Linked DNA regions of Homo sapiens: region 2 is linked to region 1. Evidence: promoter capture Hi-C in 16 types of primary human blood cells and fetal thymus (Javierre and others, 2016). All regions are on one chromosome and are shown on one strand. Each heading gives the region's core, a stretch centred on a gene start or on the middle of the fragment in contact. The rest is flanking DNA. Distances are from core to core; before and after follow the strand shown.

Region 1 (4,599 bases), core at 1,247-3,746:
CAAACTCCACCTCTAGGTTATCTTATGCAAATTATTAAACCTCTCTTGTGCTCAGTTTCCCCTCTGCAAGATGGAAATAAGAACAGCAGTAATTACCTTATATCACAGAGTTGAGGGAATTAAATGAGTTCATACTTGTAAAGTACTTAGAACATAGTAAATGCTCAAGAGGTGTTAGTGATTTTTATTCTTTGGTGAGGGGGTGGGAGGTGTGGTTTCCAAAGGTTATAATTTTCATGACATTCTACACCCAACCCGCCCCCTTCCTCCCACCTGCTTCTTTCTTTCCCTTCAGCAGAAGCCTGGCCTAGATTTGGGGAGGCCCTTGCCTGCCCCAGAGGAGATTGGGAAGGCTCCAGGCAGTGGCAAGGGGCCAGCCAGCAGGGCAGCCCCAGCTCAATTTCAGCCCAGCTGTCCAGGTCAGGGACACCCAGCTGGGCCACCTCCAGAGCCACACCAGGCCCTGAGCTATTTCTGGAGGCCTCCCAGACGCTGGTGCCCTGGCCTGCCCAGGAGTCAGCCTTGCTCAGGGTGGCCTTGCACTAACATTAGGAAGGGAGAAGGGAGTAGGCTGTGGAATGGGTGTGGATGTGGACATCTAGGCCCACTGATACCAAGTTGATCTTCTAGGCCTAGGTCTGCACTTGAGGTTGCAAAATGGGGATGAAGGATTTTGCAGTGAGGACAGAATGGAAGATAACACATGCAAGGTCTTGGGGAAGGGCCTGGCACGCAGGATTAGAAAGGGGAGGGGGAGGCAGATCCACAGCCAAGCCCACTTCCTATCCTAGACTGCCCTCTGCCCAGGCCTGAGTGCACCATCATGACTTCTTAGCTCAGCCCAGAGACTGAAGAAACTTACTCAATGTCACAGAGCAACTCAGGGACAGGGCAGTGGTTTCATGATTTATAAATATGCATATATATACACATATATACATATATACACACATACATATATATACATATATGTGTGTGTGTATATATGTGTGTGTGTATATATATATATAGAGAGAGAGAGAGAGAGAGAGAGAGAGAGAGAGAGATGGGAGGACTGCACTTCATGAAGGCTGTGTGAGTTAACCTCCTGCCTGCAGAACACACAAATGGTCCATGAACGTTAGTTTCAGTCTTGATTACTGAGGTTTTGGGCATCCCTAAATTTTGCACTGGCTCAATTGCCTCAGCCCCTGCCTTGCATCACAGTGGGAGAAGATGATACATTTGCTAATAAGTAAAAAAACCAAAACATGCAAGAACCAGAGCAGGGCTTATGAAGTCAATAAATAATATTTGTTGAAAGAATAAAAGAAAGCCTTGTTTTCTTTCTGAGTCCTCGGAGATCCTGTCCCCCAAAGCCAGGGGCAGGCTCCAGAGGAGAGAGGATATGTAACTCCCTTATGAAGAGATTGAAGACTCTCAAAATGCATGATTCTGTGTGTCAAGGATTCTAAGATTGAAGCCAGAGGGACTAGGAGCTAACCACTGCATTGTCTGACTGTGACTTCGAAAAGGGGCTTAACTTCTTAGAACCTCCGTTTCCCCACCTACAAAAGGAGACTGACAATAGCAACCTAGGGGGCAGGGGGTGTCCCCAGGAGACACAGCAGGGTCTGGCCTAGGTCAGCTGCTCCACCTGGGGGGATTCCGGCCCCACTCCCAATTCCAAAGTCTCTGGTGACTAGTGGCTTTGGTTTAGGGACTGGCTCTATTCCCTTCCCCAAACTGGGGATGATTCCCAAGAGGCCAGCAGCGGCTCTGGGGGCTGGAGAATCTGCTGCCCCTGCATCCAGCCCAGAAATGTCAGTCCCGTCCGATCCCCAAAGAGTGGTCCTCTGTCCCCGTAGACAGAAAGGCGCCAAATGAGCCGAGTCCAACCCCGGACTGCGGAGAAGGAAAGACAGACGCCCAAAGGGGGTATCCCGAGGACAGTGTGGGGCGCGGGGATATGTGATCCAGCCAGGGGTCTACAGGTCCCTGCCGATAAAACGCTGGGAAAATGACTACCAGTTGCCCGTCTGGGCCTCTCAAGGCAAGTCCAGATGTGACTAGACTAGGGGGCTGCGAGGTGGGGCAGAAAGACTTGAACTGGATTCTCCGCCAGAGCTCGCCGGGCCGGGACACTTGCCTCTCTGAGCCTCAGAGTCCTCATCTGTGAAATGACACGCAGGTACGACGCGGGGAGAAAGCAGACAGCAGACGCTCGGGGAACGGGGCCCCCAGACCCGGGGTCGCACCCGGACCCACCCGCGCCCTCACCTGGAGCCCGCGCTAGGCGTGTCCCGGCTCCTCTCGCGCAGGCTTTGGAGAGGCTGACAGCTCGGACCCGGGCCGGTAGTGGCCGCTCCCAACGACGCCCAGGAGGCCCCAGCCCCGCGTGGGCACCTTTGGGGTCCCCTTTGGAGCTGCCCTCCGCGGTCGAGCTGAGCGGGTGGCCCTCACTGTCGAAGGCCCCCACCGCAGGGAAAGTCCCTGGGGCGCCGTGGAAGGGGAAGTGAGCACGCCGCCCCCCTTCACACCAGAATGGTTCGCCCCGGACTTCCTGATTGGTTCCTCGCTTCCGTTCGAACGGCGCGCCGCCAGGGTTGCCAGGCGACCGCTTAGCTTCCCCCGCCCGAAGGAGAGGCGCTGCTCAGCAGCTCCGCCCGCTCCTCCCAGCCGGCCCCACCTTCTTCCTGCCGCCGCTTCAGCCCCGGCGCCTGGTTCTTTCCCTTCCTCCTCCTCCCTCCCGCGGCCAGCTGGGACTTCCTCTAGGACCCCAGCTGGAAGAGCTCCAGTTAGAGGGCCCTGGCTGGTTCCTAGTCCTGACTTTGACGCTAACTCCCTATGTGACCCGGTGCAAGCCCCTTCCTTTCTCTGTTCTCCTAACTGCATGATGATGAGTGAGTTAATTTTAAAATGTGCATACCCAGCAGTCCCGAAATTTACAAAGGAAATGACCAAAGATATGAGCAAAGATTAATATTGCTCAGCCTTATTCATCATAGCAAAATAATGGAAACAACTTCAATGCCTCTTGAAAGGGATTGGTTATATAATTCCATCCTGTGGAGGAGCTAACTTAATTGAGCTTTTTGCATGCCGGGTAGCTTTACAGAACAAGTCTTGTCAAGGCTTATGACATAACCCTCTAAAAGTACTTTTAATTATTAACACTTTATTTATTTCTTTATCTTTTTCTTTTCTTTTTTTTTTTTTTTTTTTGAGATGGAGTCTCACTCTGTCGCCCAGGCTGGAGTGCAGTGGCAGGATCTCAGCTCACAGCAGCCTCAATCTCCTGGGGTCAAGCAATCTTCCCACCTCAGCCTCCCAAGTAGCTGGGACTACAGGTGTGCACCACCACACCCGGTATTTTCTGTATTTTTTGTAGGGATGGGGTTTTGCCATGTTGCCCAGACTGATCTTAAACTCCTGAGCTCTAGCAATTCTACCAACTCAGCCTCCCAAAGTACTAGGATTACAGGCATGAGCCACGCCACCTAGCCTAATTTTTCCCACTTTCTGATGAGGAATATTATGCAGCCATTAAAAGTGAAGTAGCTACCAGGAGCAGTGGCTCACACCTGTAATCCCAGCACTTTGGGAGGCTGAGGCGACCAGATCACCTGAAGTCAGGAGTTCAAGACCAGCCTGGCCAACGTGGTGAAACCTCGTCTCTACTAAAAATACAAAAATTAGCCAGGCGTGGTGCCACATGCCTGTAATCCCAGCTACTCAGGAGGCTGAGGCAGGAGAATAGATTGAACCTGGGATGTGGGGGATGCAGTAAGCTGAGATCATGCCACTGCACCCCAACCTGGGCAAGAGATCATCTCAAAAAGATAAAAATAAAAGTGAAGTAGCTAGAAGATATTTAAAGATAGGGGGAAATGCTAAGTATTAAACATTGGTTTATTTATGTTTTTTAGAGACAGGGTCTAGCTCTGTTGCCCAGGGTGGAGTGCAGTGGTGCAATCATAGCTCACTGTAACCTAGGTTGAAGCAATCCTCACACCTCAGCCTCCAGAGTAACTAAGACTACAGGCCCGCATCACCATGTCAAGCTACGGGTCTCGCTATGTTGCCCCAGGCCAGTCTAGAACTCCTGGCCTCAAGTGATCCTCCTGCTTTGGCCTCCTGAATTTCTAGGATTACAGGCATAAGCCAATGCACCCCTCCCAAATTTTTTTGAAGTACAGTATGCTTCAAAACACTATGTACAGCATAAATATGTATTAAATACATATGTATATGTGTATAATCATCTATAATCACAGCAGTTAATTTCTTCTTTGTGTTTTTGTGAATTTTCCAAATTTCCAATACTTGAACATGTCAAAAAAGTATATTTTTAGGGGGATTAGAATGAATTAACTCTAAGGGCCTTTAAGGTGAGGAAATTTTATAGCAGTCAGTCTGAATTGCTCAATTTGGAACCAGCTTCTCTGTTTCATTCCAGCTGGTGTCTTTTATTCTTTGTTTGGATTGCCAATAATTGAGAACTTACTGCGTAAACCCCTGGGTGGGCAGGGGAGGGAGCTAATAATATATCAATAGCTAATAATGATTGTACACTCTGGCATGGACACCAACCAAATCAGAGCCAACCACTGTCATAAA
Region 2 (4,822 bases), core at 1,014-3,513, 350 kb before region 1:
TGCTATAGAGAAAAATTCAGAGTGAGGGAGTAAAGAGTGCTGGGGCACTGCTATTTTTGAAAGGATGGCCTGGAATGGCGTCTCTGAGAAGGTGGCATTTGAGCAAAGACTTGAAGGAAGTGAGGGAAGGGGGTGAGTGCGGGAAATATCAGAAAGAAAAACGTCCCAGGCAGAAGGAACAGCCAGCGCAAAGGCTGAGGTAGGACAGCGCATGACTGAGGGAAGGAACAGTGAGTGCTTTAAAGGCGGTATCTCATCCCATTCCCATAACACTTCCTACATCCGTTTCACAGAGGAGGAAACCGAGCTCCAGGAGGGCAGTCCTTTACACCAGGGCACCCAGCTGTGGGGGTGGAGCTGGGATTTGAACAGGAGTGTGGTGCCAGGGCTAGCATCCCTTTGAAGTCTCTAACAACGGGCCAGGCCTCTGCAAGGCTGGGAGGAAATGGAGGCCTTCCCAGCCCTGGTGGACCTGCCTAGGGCTAGGCTATGCTGGCCTTGAAGGCACAGGCATCCATCATCCAGGGTGACTTCCAGTCTCCTGGTTGGGGAGGGCTGCACAGAACTTTGGAGGAGGGCAGGTCAGGCTCCGCTCATGAGGTGGCCGAGGAGCAGGACATGGCACACTCATTCGCCTGTCCTTCCACATGGCCAACTTCTGCTGGCCTTCCCAGAGCCCTCAAAGCCTGCACATTCACAATCCTCATGGACAGAAGTGGATACAGGCTCAGAGGCCAGAGGTACTAACCGAGACCACACGATTCAGCTGGTCACCGTGTCTTCCCGGAACCTGCACGATTCAGACCAAAGCTGTCTCTGGGGTTGGCGTGTGTTCCCCAAAGAGGAAACGTCTCCATGAATTTGGTACTCTAGGCACTTCGCTGGACTCATCTTAACTCCGGCCCTGTAAAGGAAAGAAGTGAAAGTCACCCCTTTTCACAGCCTGTTCACCCACACCCACCTAGGTCTTCTAGGTGATCAGACATGGGTCCTGCTCTCCAGGAGCTGCCAATCCGATGGAGGAGGCTGACCCTTAAACAAAATCACGACCGTCAGAGACAAGAGCAAACAGTGCGGGCAAAAGGAGAGCCCAGATGGAGGGGCCCGTGGGGTAAGTGGGTGTGTGCCCAGGGAGGGGTTCCAGGAGAAGAGGCCCCACAGCTGGGCCTTGGAGGGTGAGGGTGTGTTTGGCCATTGGCAATGCCCCCAGGAGAACACCCCTCTTGGGCGGAGCACTCCACTGTCCCACGGAGAAAAAAATTGCAGAGAAAAGGGGGAGGGGGATCGTCGGATTCTTTCTTGCAGCCTTCAGGTGGCGCCCTTGAGCCACGGAGCCGCAAGCGCCCGAGGAGACCGTCCCGACCTAAGGACCTCGGAGAGGACCCGGGGTCCTACCTGGGGGCTGCGTGCGGGGTGGGGGTGGGGGGAAGGGGAAGTGGCAGAGTGGGGGTGAGGAGTGGGGAGGCACCTGCGCTTGGCGCAATAGGGGCTCTCCGGTGGTGGGGAGGGATCTTCTTCAGCAGCCCCCGCCCGCCCCGCCCCTGCGCCCGTGGACCGCGGGCTCCAAGCCCCAGTTCCCTAAGCCCAGGCGCCGGCGATCCAGATCTGCCTGGAGGGGAGGGGAGGACGGTGGATCGGAGCCCCCGCACCCTCGCCCCAGCCCATCACCCGCCTTCCTGTCCCTCTCCTTGCTAACTCTCCGGGCGCCCTCGCCGGCCGCGGGCGGAGCTCCCTCCGCGGCGCTCGGCGAGCCCCGGCCCCCGCCCCTTCTCCCGTCCCTCCGTCCCCGGATCCCCCCCCCGCCTCCCCAGCGGCCGCCACCGCCGCCGTACAGCTCCGCGCGGCGCGAGTAGGTACGTGCGCCTCGGCAGTGGCTCCGGGCCGGGCCGGGAAGGGGGCGGGAGACCGGGAGGGCGAGGCGGTGGCGGCCGGGCCCGCGCCCTCCGGGCTGCGCCGCAGGAGAGAGACCCCCGCAGGCGAGACCCCCGCAGGCGTACGCCGGCTGCAGGAAGGCGGACGGGCACCGGAGAGGACGCACCCTCGCCCGCCGGCGGCCGGGCGCCCTTCGCCCCAGCGTGGTGAGGCGGGGAGGGAGGCCCGGCACAGGTACGCACGCGGAGAGGGGACCGCTGGGGGCGGCAGGAGGCCGAGGGCCGGGGGCGGGGAGTGGCGGCGAAGGACGGCGAGCCTGACCTCGCGGCCCGCCGAAGGACATGCGACCAGGGGACCCGGCCTCCCCGGGCCTCCGCCTGGTCCGGTTCGGCCTTCCGGGTCCCGCGTCTGTGGGCAAGGGCAGGAGCAGGGGGTGTGGACTGGGCCGGCGGGAGCGGGCGCGGTGGGCAGCCGGCGTGCTGGGGCTTTCTGCGCGCAACTTTGGGTACAACAGCGTGGACCTGCGTGTGCGTATCTGCGCGCCCCAAGGCTTTGTGTACAACTCGTGCGTGTGTCTATCGACTGGGTTTTGTGAAGCTTCACCCACAGCCGCTGTGCGTCCCTCTCTCCGGGTGTCAGTGCGCGCGGCGGGTGGGGTATTGGGCCCCTGCGGGTCTTGGTGGATCTGGCTTGGGTCTCACTCCCAGGGGCACTTTGTGTGTGTGTGTGTGTGTGTGTGTGTGTGTGTGTACGCGCGTGTGCGTGTGACGGGGTACTCGCGTGGCCCGAAGATCCGAGGGTCACACTACGTGACTTCTGGGTGTCTGTGGGTACTGCTGTGGGAACAGCTGCTGGGGGAGTGTGTGTGGAACTGGAGTGTTCCTTTCAGGACCTGTCTGACTGCAGATGAAATTAGTAACTGGTGGGGTCGTGGGGTGTGAATGGTGGGCGGGAGCAGCTATGTCAGTTGGTGTGTTTCTGCTTATGTTAGGGTAATTGGGCACGGCCTTTGTGTAACTGGTGAATATCTCTGAACCTGGGCATGAAACAGAGAGATGTCCTAACTCTGGGTGAGAGGAATCCTCATTTTTCTCTGCCCTCTCACTGTGGCATCCTAAGAAAAAAGTTTTGGGTTCCTGCAGCATGAAGGAGAGCTCTGCTCCCAGAATTTGGGAGCTCCAGATTTCTTCCAGGGTGTGGAGGCATCAATATATCAGTCTGGGAAAGGGGTTCCTGGGCCACTCCAGGAGCTGAGTTGGGTGGAAGGTGCTGAGGGTGTGGGTGGGGGCCACTTCTGAGCACCCATGTGGCACCCACTGCTGGTCCCTGTTTGTGGCTGGGCACTCAGGAAAATGTTTTTGGTGCTAAGAGTAAAAAGCCAACCAACAAACACATCTCTTTTTTCTGTCTATTCACTGGAAAGTAAAAGCAGTCTGGGCGCAGGCTGGGGACCCAGATGGAATTCAAACTTATGCCTGCTCTCAAGGTGCTCACGGTTGCTGATAAACAGCTGGATAAAATGAAGAGTCTATGAGTGAGGGATGCAGAGCCAGGGAAGGCTGGTGGAGTGATGCCACCAGCACAGGGGTATGAGTTTGCAGGTTTGTACATGATAATAATTCTTAGGGAATCTGCATTCAACTCCTGTCCTCCACCCTCCCATACATGCCATGGGATCTTGGCCATGTTTTATGAAATAGAGACAGTAATTCCGGATCGTGGGGCTGGTGAGGGTGATATGAGATACTCCTGCATGAAGTGTCGGGTACATGGCTCAACAGCTAGTAGGTGCTTGGTAAACATTTACTAAATTGAGACTCTGGAAAGAGAGACGTAGTGATAGAAATGGGCTGTAAAGGGAAAAGAGCTTTGTACTCACATGAAAGGCCCTATATGTGCTAAGAGGAGGTGTCTGATGCTAGTCCATATTGACAAGAAGGTCAGAAAGATTGAAAAACATGTCTTCCTGCACTGAGGCTCTTTGAGTTTCATTCATTCATTCATTCCATTCATCCTCACTTCATTTGCTCATATTTACACACACACACACACACAAACACACACACACACACACACACACAGAGAACGAACCACAGTGCACTGGAGAATAAACTCCGGCATGAGAATGCAGAGAATCGTGTGTGTGTGCATGTATGTGTGCGTAGACACACCGGAGCATGTGAGCCACTCTGCACCTGGTGGTCTCTGTAGCCCATGGCTTGTGCGCCTAGGGCTCTGAGTGTATGTGCCCTCAGGCCATCAGTGTATACAAGGAATGATGCAGTTCTGCTGTGGATTAGGAATGACACATGCCAGGCAGGGAAGGGGGCTGAGGTGGGACCTGTCGGGGAGAGGCTAGATCTGCCTAAGAGCCCCGATTGCCAACTCCAGGCGAGTGTTACAAGGGAACGGGGGCCTAAGGTGGCCAGATTCTTTCATTTTGCAGGAGAAGCCAGGAATCCAACATTTAAAATGTAAAATCTAAAATCTTTTGCTTTTTATACATTTGCAACTAATTCACCAAAAACAAATGAACAGGCCAGGAACAAAACAAAGCAAAACTTCTATCAGCCAAATATGGTCCCCGGGCTGTAAGTCAGTATCCTTCAGCGGGAATGCACATGTGCTGTCTGTGTCTGGGTGGGTTTGTGTTCAGGTTCTTGGGTGGGGTAACTCCTCTTGCAGCACAGAGAGTGTCCCTCTTCTCGCCTCTCCCTCCCGGTTCCCCTCCTGTGGTTCTAGTCCAGGTCCCCACACTTCTGTTTACATAAAGGCATTTGGCTTTGACCTAGTCATGGCTCTCCAGTCTGCCCCTTCCTCTTGGCCCTTTTAGCCATGCCATCCCCAACCTGCTGGCTTCCTTGCTGGACCCCCATCCTCCACTTTGCCCCCTCCCATCTCATCAGTCCTCCTTTCTTCTGAAGCCGAGGCACTTCCTGCTCCAGCTCCT

The links. The method cuts DNA at HindIII sites, captures the fragments that hold promoters and counts their contacts. A CHiCAGO score of 5 or more calls a contact.
Region 2: the fragment with the promoter of TMEM74B here is called in contact with the fragment with the promoter of FAM110A in region 1 in 1 of 17 cell types (erythroblasts); the score reaches 5.2 in erythroblasts.

What each region holds. Positions count from the first base shown.
Region 1 is chr20:831,612-836,210 of GRCh38, reverse strand. FAM110A (family with sequence similarity 110 member A) reads right to left here and starts at 2,496. Exons shown (of 2, transcript NM_001042353.3): 1 at 2,260-2,496. RefSeq lists an enhancer at 480-579 and a silencer at 2,096-2,245. The HindIII fragment of the contact is 11,509 bases long and covers 1-4,599 here.
Region 2 is chr20:1,182,422-1,187,243 of GRCh38, reverse strand. It overlaps TMEM74B (transmembrane protein 74B), which reads left to right and starts at 2,263. Exons shown (of 3, transcript NM_001304748.2): 1 at 2,263-2,942; 2 at 3,296-3,473. The coding sequence starts at 3,443. The HindIII fragment of the contact is 2,699 bases long and covers 1-2,471 here.